Regions from separate parts of the Homo sapiens genome. Here all the other regions are linked to region 1. The links are contacts of gene promoters, found by promoter capture Hi-C in blood cells and fetal thymus (Javierre and others, 2016). All regions are on one chromosome and are shown on one strand. Each heading gives the region's core, a stretch centred on a gene start or on the middle of the fragment in contact. The rest is flanking DNA. Distances are from core to core; before and after follow the strand shown. Region 1 holds the start of SERPINB13 (serpin family B member 13). Region 2 has its middle 54 kb from the start of SERPINB7. Region 3 has its middle 36 kb from the start of SERPINB7.

Evidence for each region. Contacts are between HindIII fragments. The CHiCAGO score rates a contact against its expected background, and 5 or more counts as called.
Region 2: a contact is called between a fragment that was not itself captured here and the fragment with the promoter of SERPINB13 in region 1, in 7 of 17 cell types (megakaryocytes, M2 macrophages, M1 macrophages and 4 more). The highest score is 8.5, in megakaryocytes.
Region 3: a contact is called between a fragment that was not itself captured here and the fragment with the promoter of SERPINB13 in region 1, in 2 of 17 cell types (megakaryocytes and endothelial precursors). The highest score is 7.1, in megakaryocytes.

Annotation. Positions count from the first base shown.
Region 1 is chr18:63,585,595-63,589,300 of GRCh38, forward strand. SERPINB13 (serpin family B member 13) reads left to right here and starts at 1,749. Exons shown (of 8, transcript NM_012397.4): 1 at 1,749-1,856; 2 at 3,057-3,238. The coding sequence starts at 3,074. RefSeq lists an enhancer at 3,035-3,706. The HindIII fragment of the contact is 1,527 bases long and covers 559-2,085 here.
Region 2 is chr18:63,827,642-63,831,347 of GRCh38, forward strand. No RefSeq gene overlaps it. Among named protein-coding and RNA genes, the nearest start is that of SERPINB7, 54 kb to the left of the region's middle. The HindIII fragment of the contact is 3,657 bases long and covers 1-3,651 here.
Region 3 is chr18:63,809,704-63,813,409 of GRCh38, forward strand. No RefSeq gene overlaps it. Among named protein-coding and RNA genes, the nearest start is that of SERPINB7, 36 kb to the left of the region's middle. The HindIII fragment of the contact is 276 bases long and covers 1,458-1,733 here.

The DNA of each region.
Region 1 (3,706 bases), core at 499-2,998:
TCTTAATCATCAACATATATTCCACCTCTGGGGCAGTTTTGATCCTAGAAAGAAGAGATGGATAAAACAGAACAGGGAGGAGTCCTGTGATAAGAGGTTGGGAAGGCGTTGAAAATTAGGTTTAGAGAGAATAAGGATGAGAATCTGTCACCAGATGGAGGTGCTTGAGTGTTAAACAAGAGCAGTTCCTGGTGTGAGTGGGCCACTATAAAAGAGGGAAGGTGAAGGTCCGAGAAGTGAGAGGCGCTGGCAACAGGAATGGTGAAGTGGTACAGGGTGGCGGTAGCAGCTGGGGTGGACAGGAAGACCATATGCAGAGTCACGGAGGGACCTGTGGTTGGGGACAGAGCAGCACAGCGTGATGGTCTAAGTTTCCAAAGGGGAGCATTGAAGGTGACTGAAGGAAGAAAGACTTGGAAGAAGAGGGAGTGCGAGGGAGAATAGGAATGGTGACTTTGCTTTCCCAAGATATGAGTGGCCGTTCCCAGAAAAGACTATGGGATGTAGTAGTCCTCAGGACATGCCAGGTTTCCCGGTGAAAGCAGGTGGTAGAGCAAAAGCTTTAGCAAAAAGCAGAAGGCCTGTGGAAATGGCTGGGCAATAGAACAGGAAGTCTAGGGGCCACAGAGAAAGAAATAAGAAGATATAAATGGATAGGGATATTAAAACATAAAGCATTATGGCCGACTCAGAGATTTTATGCCATTTTAAAAAACTAACATTTCCATTTCACTGGCATCCAGGGTTCACTAAGTGTTAATTCTTTCTAAACCTTACTCAATTTGCAAGATTCTCAGTGCCTATTAAAAAGCAAATCAACTAAATGTGGCTTTGAGTTTGCTTAAAGAGCAGCAATCAAAATATTTTGAAAAAAGTAAATTGTGAGTATGGAGATTGGAACACACATGACCCATATGCCCTTCGAGCCTGCGTATCTAGGGAGGTGTTCCTCTAGGCAGAAGGAAGAGCTAAGACACCCTTCTAGGAGCTGCTGCCCAGCAACGATGGCAAATCTCCACGCCCTTTACTGAAGATTAAAGCTAAGACTAATCCAAGCACAGTTTCTTTTAATGAACTGGTAGGGCCAGTAGAAATGCTCCAGGGTTGGCAGGAAAAACTGGAATCTGGGGGTGTAATTTCCTATTGAGTTTTTTTGGTAGTGTTGTTTTCCTGAAATCAGTGAGGATATTGAGTGCTTATGAATTATTGGCATTAGACACAGTACCTGGTACATAATAGACTTGATAAATGTTTATTGAATGAATTAAAATGAGATATTTTACAATTAATGGATGGAATACTTGAGAATAATAGGTGTGTGTGTGTATGTGTGTGTGCGTGTGTGTGTGTGCGCATGCTCGCTTGTGTGTGGCTGCCTACCCAAACTTTTCTTGTTCTTTTTTCTTGTTCCTTTGTAGCAAGATAGTTTTCTTTCATTTTCTTCCTGGCATTTGGCACTCCTAAATAATGCAAATGCAAAAATAACTCTGTTACAGAGAATGACTTGTCAGGACACAGCTCTGTCCATCTGTGGTAAGTAAAGTATGCATTTAATGTATGTGTTCATCAGGCTATACACCTTTGGTTCCCAGCGTTGGCTGTACATTGTAATCACCTGCGGTGATAAAAATTCTGATGCCTGGTTTCCACTCGAGAGATGCTGACTCAGTTGGTCTGGGGTGGGGCTTGGGCATAGATTTTTTTTAAAGTTCCAAGGAGATTTTAAGGTGCACGCAAGGTGGAAAACCACTGCTGAAGCAGATGTGGAGAACTATAAATTAAGGATCCCAGCTACTTAATTGACTTATGCTTCCTAGTTCGTTGCCCAGCCACCACCGTCTCTCCAAAAACCCGAGGTAAGTTCTTATTTTGGCTCCAATTTAAGACCTCTGTATTTTGAGAACAATGATGTTTGTTGTTTGAAAGAATTACTTTTATTTTGCATAGACTTTCTGGAGGTAGTTTTATTTAATTCAGTTCCAACATGGCCATGACAATGTATCTTCTTTGACAGTAAATTAATCCATTTTATTTCTGAGTTAACCTGTAAAGGATCTCTGCAAGGAAACCTGAGGTTGAAATGAAAGCTTTGATATCAGATGTGGGATGCCTTAGCGGGGATGAGCCCTTGAGGGCAAAAGGCCCCAAAGTATGTGGGCTTTAAAAAACTTTATTTTTCATTAATCTTATTCTTGTTTTAGGATTCCTCCTAAAGCCTTTACTTACTAGTTTTAAAGTAGTTGGTAATGAAGCAAACATAAAAACAGTTCTACCTATTTATTTTTGGCAAATATTAATTGCTCTTTAAAAACTATTTTTGTGAAATGACAAAAGTAATGCAAGCTCATGTACAAGCCTAAAACAATACAGAAAAGTATAAAAAAGAAAACCCTTTCATCTCCACCTAATAATTCATGACCAGAGATATGTGGTTTCTGCTTCAGAAAAATTCAGCCCAGAGTCAAGTTTGTATGCAGTTAGGGAAAGGGGTTTAAGAGATTTAATCAATCCTGTCACTCTCTGGGCTGAATTTTGAATCAATTGAGAAATAGTATCAGATAAGGATTCAAGTCTCGGCTTAATTATTGCTAAGGTTGGATCTGAGAGCACTGTTTGAACTTGAGGCCCGTGGAGATTCTTGTGCCTACCCCCCTGCCTTATCATGGGCCCCACATCTGGACAAACTGGTGTCGCCTGGACAAGGGCTGGGTCTACCTGGGGAAGCTTCCATGAAGAGGAGGCTGTGGAGAGGCAGAGACAGGCAGGGTCAGACAGAGAGCAAGAGAATAAAGCCATTAAAACATTAACCCTGCTCCGCGGGGAAATAAGAACTGAGCACCACCGGATGACGGAAGACTCCAGTAGATTGATGGATGTCTCCCAGCAAGAGAAGGCCAAGAGAGGACGTGAGAAGCAGGCAGCAGCGACCTTTCACCAAAAGGGTGGAAATCCCTGTATTCCGGATCGATGCAAGAAGAGGAATAGAAGCAGAAAGGATTCCCCTGACACAGAGTAATTCAAATGTTCAGTTTTGATTGTTGTTCTTGCTATTCTAGGTCTCGCTAAAATCATCATGGATTCACTTGGCGCCGTCAGCACTCGACTTGGGTTTGATCTTTTCAAAGAGCTGAAGAAAACAAATGATGGCAACATCTTCTTTTCCCCTGTGGGCATCTTGACTGCAATTGGCATGGTCCTCCTGGGGACCCGAGGAGCCACCGCTTCCCAGTTGGAGGAGGTTGGGCGCAGTCAGGGGGCTTCCTTGTTTCCTATGCACAAATTCATTTGGCGGGGGGGTTGTCAGCCCTCTTGCATTATCTTAAAAATACGCTCTTCTTGACCTGTGGACCAGGAAACAGAGACTTTCAAGACAAGGAGCAATTTCAGGTCTATCAGGAAAGCCCTCTTCCTTTTCCAAATACCATCTCGCCACCTGCTCCCAGATGCTTGAAATTTTTTTGAGTAGAGACTGGTTGCGTAACCTTGTCCAAGTACTTATGGAAAAAGTGACATAATCCCCACAAGGGTAAAAATGACACATCCAAGATGAACACAGGAACACATAAGCCAATACGAGTTCCTTAGAAAAAAATTAGAGGTATTTTTAGTAAAGAAGGGGATTCACCATGTTGGCCAGGCTAGTCTTGAACTCCTGACCTCAGGTGATCCACACGCCTTGGCCTCCCAAAGTGCTGGGATTACAGGC
Region 2 (3,706 bases), core at 573-3,072, 240 kb after region 1:
CCTCTCTGAAATCAGTAAGTCCAGCTGCAATCAAGCCCACATGGCAAGTGGAATTTTTGCAGAAGCAGCTCATCCACTTCTCTTGGTAAGTTAGAATAAAACATGTTTCCATAAATAAAGTCGAAACCTTTTCTTTCTGTCTTTATTTAATCTACTCTAGAATTGTCTGTGCTATCAAAACTGTGGCAAAATAAAAAAGATATTACAGATAGATAAATGCACGCAAAACTATGGGAAAATAAAAAAGATATTACAGATAGATAAATACATGCTAATATAGAATATAAAATATATTTTATACATGCATTTTGTTTCATATAAAATACAAAAGAGTTTAGGATTCTAACTTTCAGTTGCTAGCTTGTAACAACTTCAATCATACTTTAGGCAGACCCAGCTGAAGCATGAATTTTTCAGAGTTTATGATATGGTTTTGATCTGTGTCTCCACCAAATGTCACGTAGAATTGTAATCCCCAGCGTTGGAGGTGCAGCCTGGGGGGAGGTGATTGGATCATGGAGGCAGTTTCTCATGAATGGTTTAGCACTATCTCCTTGGTGCTATTCTCACGATAGTGAGTTCTCATGAAATCTGATCATTTAAAAGTGAGTAGAACCTCCCCCATCTCTCTCTCTTGCTTCTGCTCCTGCCATGTGAGACGCCTCACTCCCTCTTTGTCTTCTGCCATGACTGGAAGATTCCTGAGGCCTCCCTAGAAGCAGAAGCCACTGTGCTTCCTGTACAGCCTTCAGAACTGTAAGCCAATTAATCTCTTTTCTTTATAAATTACCCAGTCTCAGGTATTTCTTTAGCTATTATGAATAATGCTGCTGTGAATATTCCTGTAAAAGGCTTTTTGAGTACATATTCTTTCACTCCTGTTAAATAAATATCTACTAGTGGAATTGCTGGGTCATAGGGTACATGCAAATGTACATGTAAGAAAATATGCTAGATTTTCTCAGAAGATTTTGTCTTTTATTTTACATTTGAGTTTTTGCTCCATGTCATTATTATTAGTCAAGGATTTTACTGAAGGTAGAAAAACAAAGACACATTAACAGTATAACATTTATTAACAGTATGACAAGAAAATTTCATCCACAATTTTGCATGTTTCTATAAAATAGATAAATAGGCTATACACTCACTTTCTTTTCTTCTGCATCTTCCACATTCCTTGTCCATTATATAATTGGGAATGCTTTACATATTTGCTCAAAAGTCTTGTTTTTGGTTCATATGAAGATATCTGGTGTTAATTATATATGCCAGTTAAAAATAGATCTAAAGTCAAAACAAAACCAGTGAAAATAATTCATATTCAATTGTTGATTAAGTATGGTCTTGCTTTGTTTCACTTCCCACGGGTGAAATCTAGGATCTCTTATCACCCCACAGCCTCATATCTCCCAATCAGCTGGTGTTGGTTAATGCCATCTCCTTCAGAGAGAACCAGAAAAATGCACTTCAGAAAGACCAAACAAAAGCAATGGCTTTCACGTTGGATGAGGTGGTCTCATGTAGTCTCATGGCTTAATTTGTTTATCTCTTAAAAGTAATCCTCAAAATTTTTGTCCTTAAGAACTGCTAAATTATTTCTGGCCTTAGGGAAGCAAATTAATTTCCAAGTGGCTATCCTAGCTACATTTGCAATAAAAAGCAGATTTTGATTTATAAAATATTTATTTTTTTGTTGAACCTTTCTTTAAAATTTTCCACTGTTTTTTACCCTGTATAAAAATAGAAATTCTATTTTAGCAATGCAGTTGTACAATTGAAAAATGCTATGAAATATAGACTTTGAAAGTATTTAAAATAAGTCTTGGTTAAGACCACTTAAACTATTATCAAGCCACTTACCTCTTGCTAACTGGAAATAAGGTCAGGCAATAGAAAATAACAGCAAGAGACAACTGAGGAACTAACAGGCAAATCACTTCTTTTAAAATTATACTTTAAGTTCTGGGATACATGTGCAGAATGTGCAGGTTTGCTACCTAGGTATACATGTGCCATGGTGGTTTGCTGCACCAGGCAGGTCACTTCTAAAATGAGTTTGATCTCCCTACAAAGCCAAGCTGAACTGGTGAACAAAATGCACAGTCAAGGTGGAAGGTTCTAGGCTTACTGCCCTTCTACTTAGCACCCTCAGCCTTCCCAACTTTTCTAAGTGTCAAAAATGTCCCAAATATCAGGCCACAACCAAAATAAGACATGTTATTTAACAAGAAAGAATTGATCTGTATATAATAACTAAGCCACTGTGCTATCAAATGCATTTATTCCAGCCCACCAAGGAATGCTTGAAATTACAAGTAAATTTAAAATTTGTTCTTGTCAACTGTAAGAATAGACTTTCTATTTCTGAATAAATACTTTTCATATAAAATAAGTAGTAAATTAAGGAGAAACATAAACCTCTAGCCAAACACATTAGTCATATCTGGAAGTATGTAGTAATGCCCTTACAAAGAATATTACCATCACATTCACATTTTGAGGTTATAAAATGAACAATAAATTATATAGATGTTATGGCTGTGATTTTTGAAAATACAGATTCTAGGGCCACCTTCCTGGGGACTCTGATTTGCATGATGAACTTGAGTATACATATTTTCAAAGAGCCCCTTAGGTCCTTCCAAGGATCAGCCCGGTTGGGGAATCACAGTATGTAGAAAATGGGCTATTTTAGCAGGATTCATAAAGAGATGCTCAAAGGGGTAAGCATACCCCACAGCAAATAGATTTGCTAGAGAAAGCAGCTAACAAAACAGAATATTTTATTTCACAGAAAAATCTCATCCATTTGGCTTATATACACAATGCAGGTGTATATACCTGTTAACTAGCATTTCAAAGATAAAAACATAAAGTATCATTATGGTCATAACAAAATTTCCTTAAAGTAGTCCAATTATGAGAGCTCACCTAGTGCTTTGTCACATTCTTAGCTATTTTGTAACTCCAGAAATTATCAGAATCAGCTCAATGCTGCTGACTAGTTAAGATTAGTCAGATTTTACTCGAGCTGGAGAGACTTCTAAATTATGCTCTTGAAAGGACCTATTTGTCCTTTAAAAATGGTTATCCTGGTAAGATCTTATGGTGTGGGTATTTCCCAGCCCTTTGAAGTGAATTAACTGCATCTGGAAGTCAAAAAAGTACACCTGAATGAAATTAATATATTGGGGAACTTGAATACTTTGGACTTTAGTAGCAGCTTTGTTTAGGTTCCTCCCCTCTTTATGTCATCAAAATAACGTTCAATCGTAGGTATTTCTAAAGACGGATGGATGGTTTTCTTTTGCCACCAACTGTAGGCAATTTTGGAGGATGAAAATAAACATAAATTTTCTATGTCCTAAATAGCAAAAGAAAGAGATTGGCTTTATTATTTCACTGTTTTTACTTTTGTAGTCTCAGAGCAGACCTGTGGAGATGATACATGCTCCATTTAGCTTTAAAAGGAGGCTCCATTAAGGACCCTCCTTTACAAGTGCTTGAGATGCCCAACGTGGAGGATCACCTGAGTGTGGTCATTGTCCTACCCAGCAAAGACATCCACTTGGAACAGATAAACCACTGAGCCTCCGCAGCTGTAGTTACAAGAGAAAGGCTCTGTGCTTGAGAATGACACATGCAGAAAGCTTGAGGTTAAAGTAACCGCATACACTCCTACTTCCTGTGGTGTCCTGTCCAT
Region 3 (3,706 bases), core at 346-2,845, 220 kb after region 1:
GGGAGAAATGGACAGTGGTCCAGGTGAGAAGCGATGGTGGCCTAACCTAGAAGATGGGTCTTGGGAATGCGCATAGTGAATGAAGGTGACAGATTTGGGAGGCAGCCTGACTGGTCAGGACTCTGTGAACGACTGGATGAATGTGGCAGTAAAAGGGGAGGACTTCTCAAGATTCAACTTCACAATCTTTAAACAACTGTAACATCACCAGCCAGAGCAGAGGGGAGGGGAAGACAGAAGAAGGGGAGAAGCTGGATGGCAGGGGCATCCCTGTAAGGCCACTGGAGCTGTTATTGTAACGGTTCTTTACTTTTGAACTAAGCACTCCTTTTGAAAATCAGATTTAGGGGTATCCAAAAATGCACACGAAAGAATTTAGGTATATAATTTTAAGAAGTTCAAAGAGCTCCTGAATCCCATTCATAGATTCCCTAGGTTACAAATCCCTGTCACTTATACCTAAATTAGGGCATACCGGATGGGAACCATCCATCGTAGCACAAAGAAAGTGAAGTGTAAGAGCCATGGACCACTAGATAGATGCACTTTCTATGGGACTAGGGCTCTAGGATGATCTGTGCCTTTAAACATCCTGCACAATAGGCAGGGATGCACCACCTCACTCGTAACTATTAATTAGAGTCTTTATAGACAATAGACTTTATAGGCAAGAGAAACCGGTAAATGTTTCATTAAAGATAATACCATAGATGTCATTGACCACACCCAGCCACCTCTTTGCAAATAACCTCTGGTTCTGTGACTAGACATTTAGTGAATATTAACCTTTTAAAAAGTATCTGTTCCTTGGGTCTATCAGAGAACAGTGTCTCTAGAGGCATCAGGGTCTTTGAGAAGTTGATAGCATTTATTCTTTCATTATGAATTCCTTTTTTTTCCCTCTTTGTCCTTGAATCCAAATCCTCCTTAAGACTGTAGATGAGAGAAGTCAGGTTCTTCAAACTGCTGGACTGATTCAAGGTGTGTTTCTTTGAGCCTAGAGACGATTTTAATAGTTGTTTTATAGTTCATCTCTCTCCAGAGCAAGATGAATACTGTCCCCTTTTCTTACTCAAGTGTTTCCACACAAGTCCTTAGCTCCTCAACGAGTGATCCCATGCCTCCTGTCTCTGTTTTAAATGGCTCCTTTGCTAGAAGTGGGTACTGGTATTTGGAGTGTTTCAGTGAGGTGAGTTGGCTCTCTGAAAGAGCTAGGTCTTCTTGAGAATATAGACCATGCATCCTGGATGTCTCTCACTAACGTCGTAAATGATTAGTTTGTTTCCTTTTTTTTCCCTTCCCCTTTTGAAAATTTCAGAAACAAGCGAACCATTAGGCATTTTTCTACTGGCTTCTGTGCCATTTCTTTTCACACTCCTTAGGGTAAAGCCAAACAGTGCTTAATTGTTTGAGAGGGAAGGCATTTGTCATTTCTGTTTTCTGAAAACCATAACTTAAGCTTTTACTCTTGTGTGTACAATAATTTTGTAATATTTACTATCAAGTTACATAAAGTTTTATAAAGGAAACTATTGGGTTAGTTTCCTTTGTAACTATACTTTGTGCCTATTTTTACATTATTTATACAAATCAGGCTCATTTTATGAAAATACAAATATCTAAATCTTGCCTTTTCTCTTTACTTTTTATTTCCATGAATCTTTTTCTTCCATTAATTAACCTCTTCTTCCTCTGTAGATGTCCATAGTTTGGATTCCCTTTTAAAAAGTAGAAGCTTTTCTTTCTGTATATGTTTATACATGCGCAATTTGATTAAAAGGAGTTAATATGAGTGCCTGGCTTTGATTTTAATTACACCCAATTAGTGTTAGCTAATAATTTGTTGGGGATATTCTTTATGAGAAAGTCAAAAATATGTATCTTTAATTTTAGAGAAAAATATGTTCAGGATATAGTTGTTTAATTTACAGGGGTCAAATGAAAGACAAAACTTCTTAAGGAATACAGATGAAATGAAACAACTCAATCAAGATGCCTAATATCAACATACAGATAGGATCTTCTGTTGGTCAATTGGACACAAACACACAAAATTATCCCTTATAGAAGTTAACTGCTATGCACTGAACAATTTGAGAAGACTAATCTTTTTTTTTCTTTTTTTCTTTTTTTGGTTTTTTATTAAGACAGAGTCTTGCTCTGTCATCCAGGCTGGAGTGCAGTGGCACAAGCTCGGCTCACTGCAACCTCTGCCTCTCTGGTTCAAGTGATTCTCCTACCTCAGCTGGGATTACAGGCATGTGCCACCACACCTGGCTAATTTTTATATTTTTATTAGAGATGGGGTTTCACCATGCTGGCCAGGCTAGTCTTGAACTCCTGACCTCAGTTGATCCATCCACTCCCAAAATGCTGGGATTACAGATGTGAGCCACCACACCAGGCCATCCTTTCTATCCATGCACTATGTTAAAGGACTTACCTAGTGCTTAATTCTTCTTTTGAAAAATGAAGTTGTTCATGGTGTCTCATGCTTATAATCCCAGCACTTTGGGAGGCCAAGCAGGAGGATTGCTTGAGGCCAGGAGTTGGAGACTAGCCTGGGCAACATAGAGAGACCTCATCTTGACAAAAAAAAAAAAAACATTTTGAAAAGTGCTCTGAGTATGGTGGCATATGTCTGTAGTCCCAGCTACACAGGAGGCTGAGGAGGGAGGATTGCTTTCAGGAGTTCAAGGCTGCAGTGAGCTATGATTATGCCACTGTACTCCAGCCTGGGTGACAGAGCAAGATACCATCTTTAAATAAATAAATAATAATAATAAGCGAAAAAACATGAGGTAATTGGGCCATATCAGTGTTTTGTAATGTTGGGATGGAACCTATCTGTAGGTTGTAAAAACAATTTAGAGAATTGCCACCAGTGTTTTAAAAATATAAAATAATACAGTAGAAAAGGAAATATCAGAATGCATTAGTAGTAGTAGTTAGCAGAAGTTTTTTTGTAAAACACTTGAATATGTATTCTGGATCACTGTTGGAATTTCTTAGTTGGAATCCCAAATCCCTGAAGAAATGCTTTCTAAGGCCTTTAGTTCTAATATTTGAAGACACAGTATTGGTCTCTGAGTTGGGGCTGCAGCTGATTTGTAGTTTGCTTTAAGTGGGAATCCTGCCTACATTTGTTGTGAGATATGTTTGAAACCCTTATGCAACAAAGATTTCAGGGAAAGCAATTTGTTACCAGTTCCCAAGACAAAGTGCTTCCTCTCTGGCTTTTAAACACCAGTAATTTATTGTCATAGTCAGAGGGTGTATATAATGTAATATGTGTGTGTCTCTGTGTGTGTATGTATCACATTTAATTTTTAACACCTAATATATTTTATAATTATAAAACAACATTTGATTTGTTGTATAGAATGCATGACATTAGATGTTTCATTAATATTCTTCTACATCTTTTGGGCCATTGTTTTGACCCAGGGAAACTGTGTGTCTCACAATGTATGCGTCAGCTAGCTCATGCTCTACCCCGTTGTACAAATACTTTAAATCGCTTCACAATGCAAGGAAAAAAGACTTGTGGAACCAAATTCTAAGAAGACAAGGGAGGAGCCAGCTGAGTGCTGGTGTAGCTGTGTATTTCAGACTCAACTCTGGGCTCACCAAGCAGAACTTGAGAAAACTTGAAGATGAAGTAAAAATGTGAGCACTAAATTGTACTTTCTTTGAGGTGATTTTT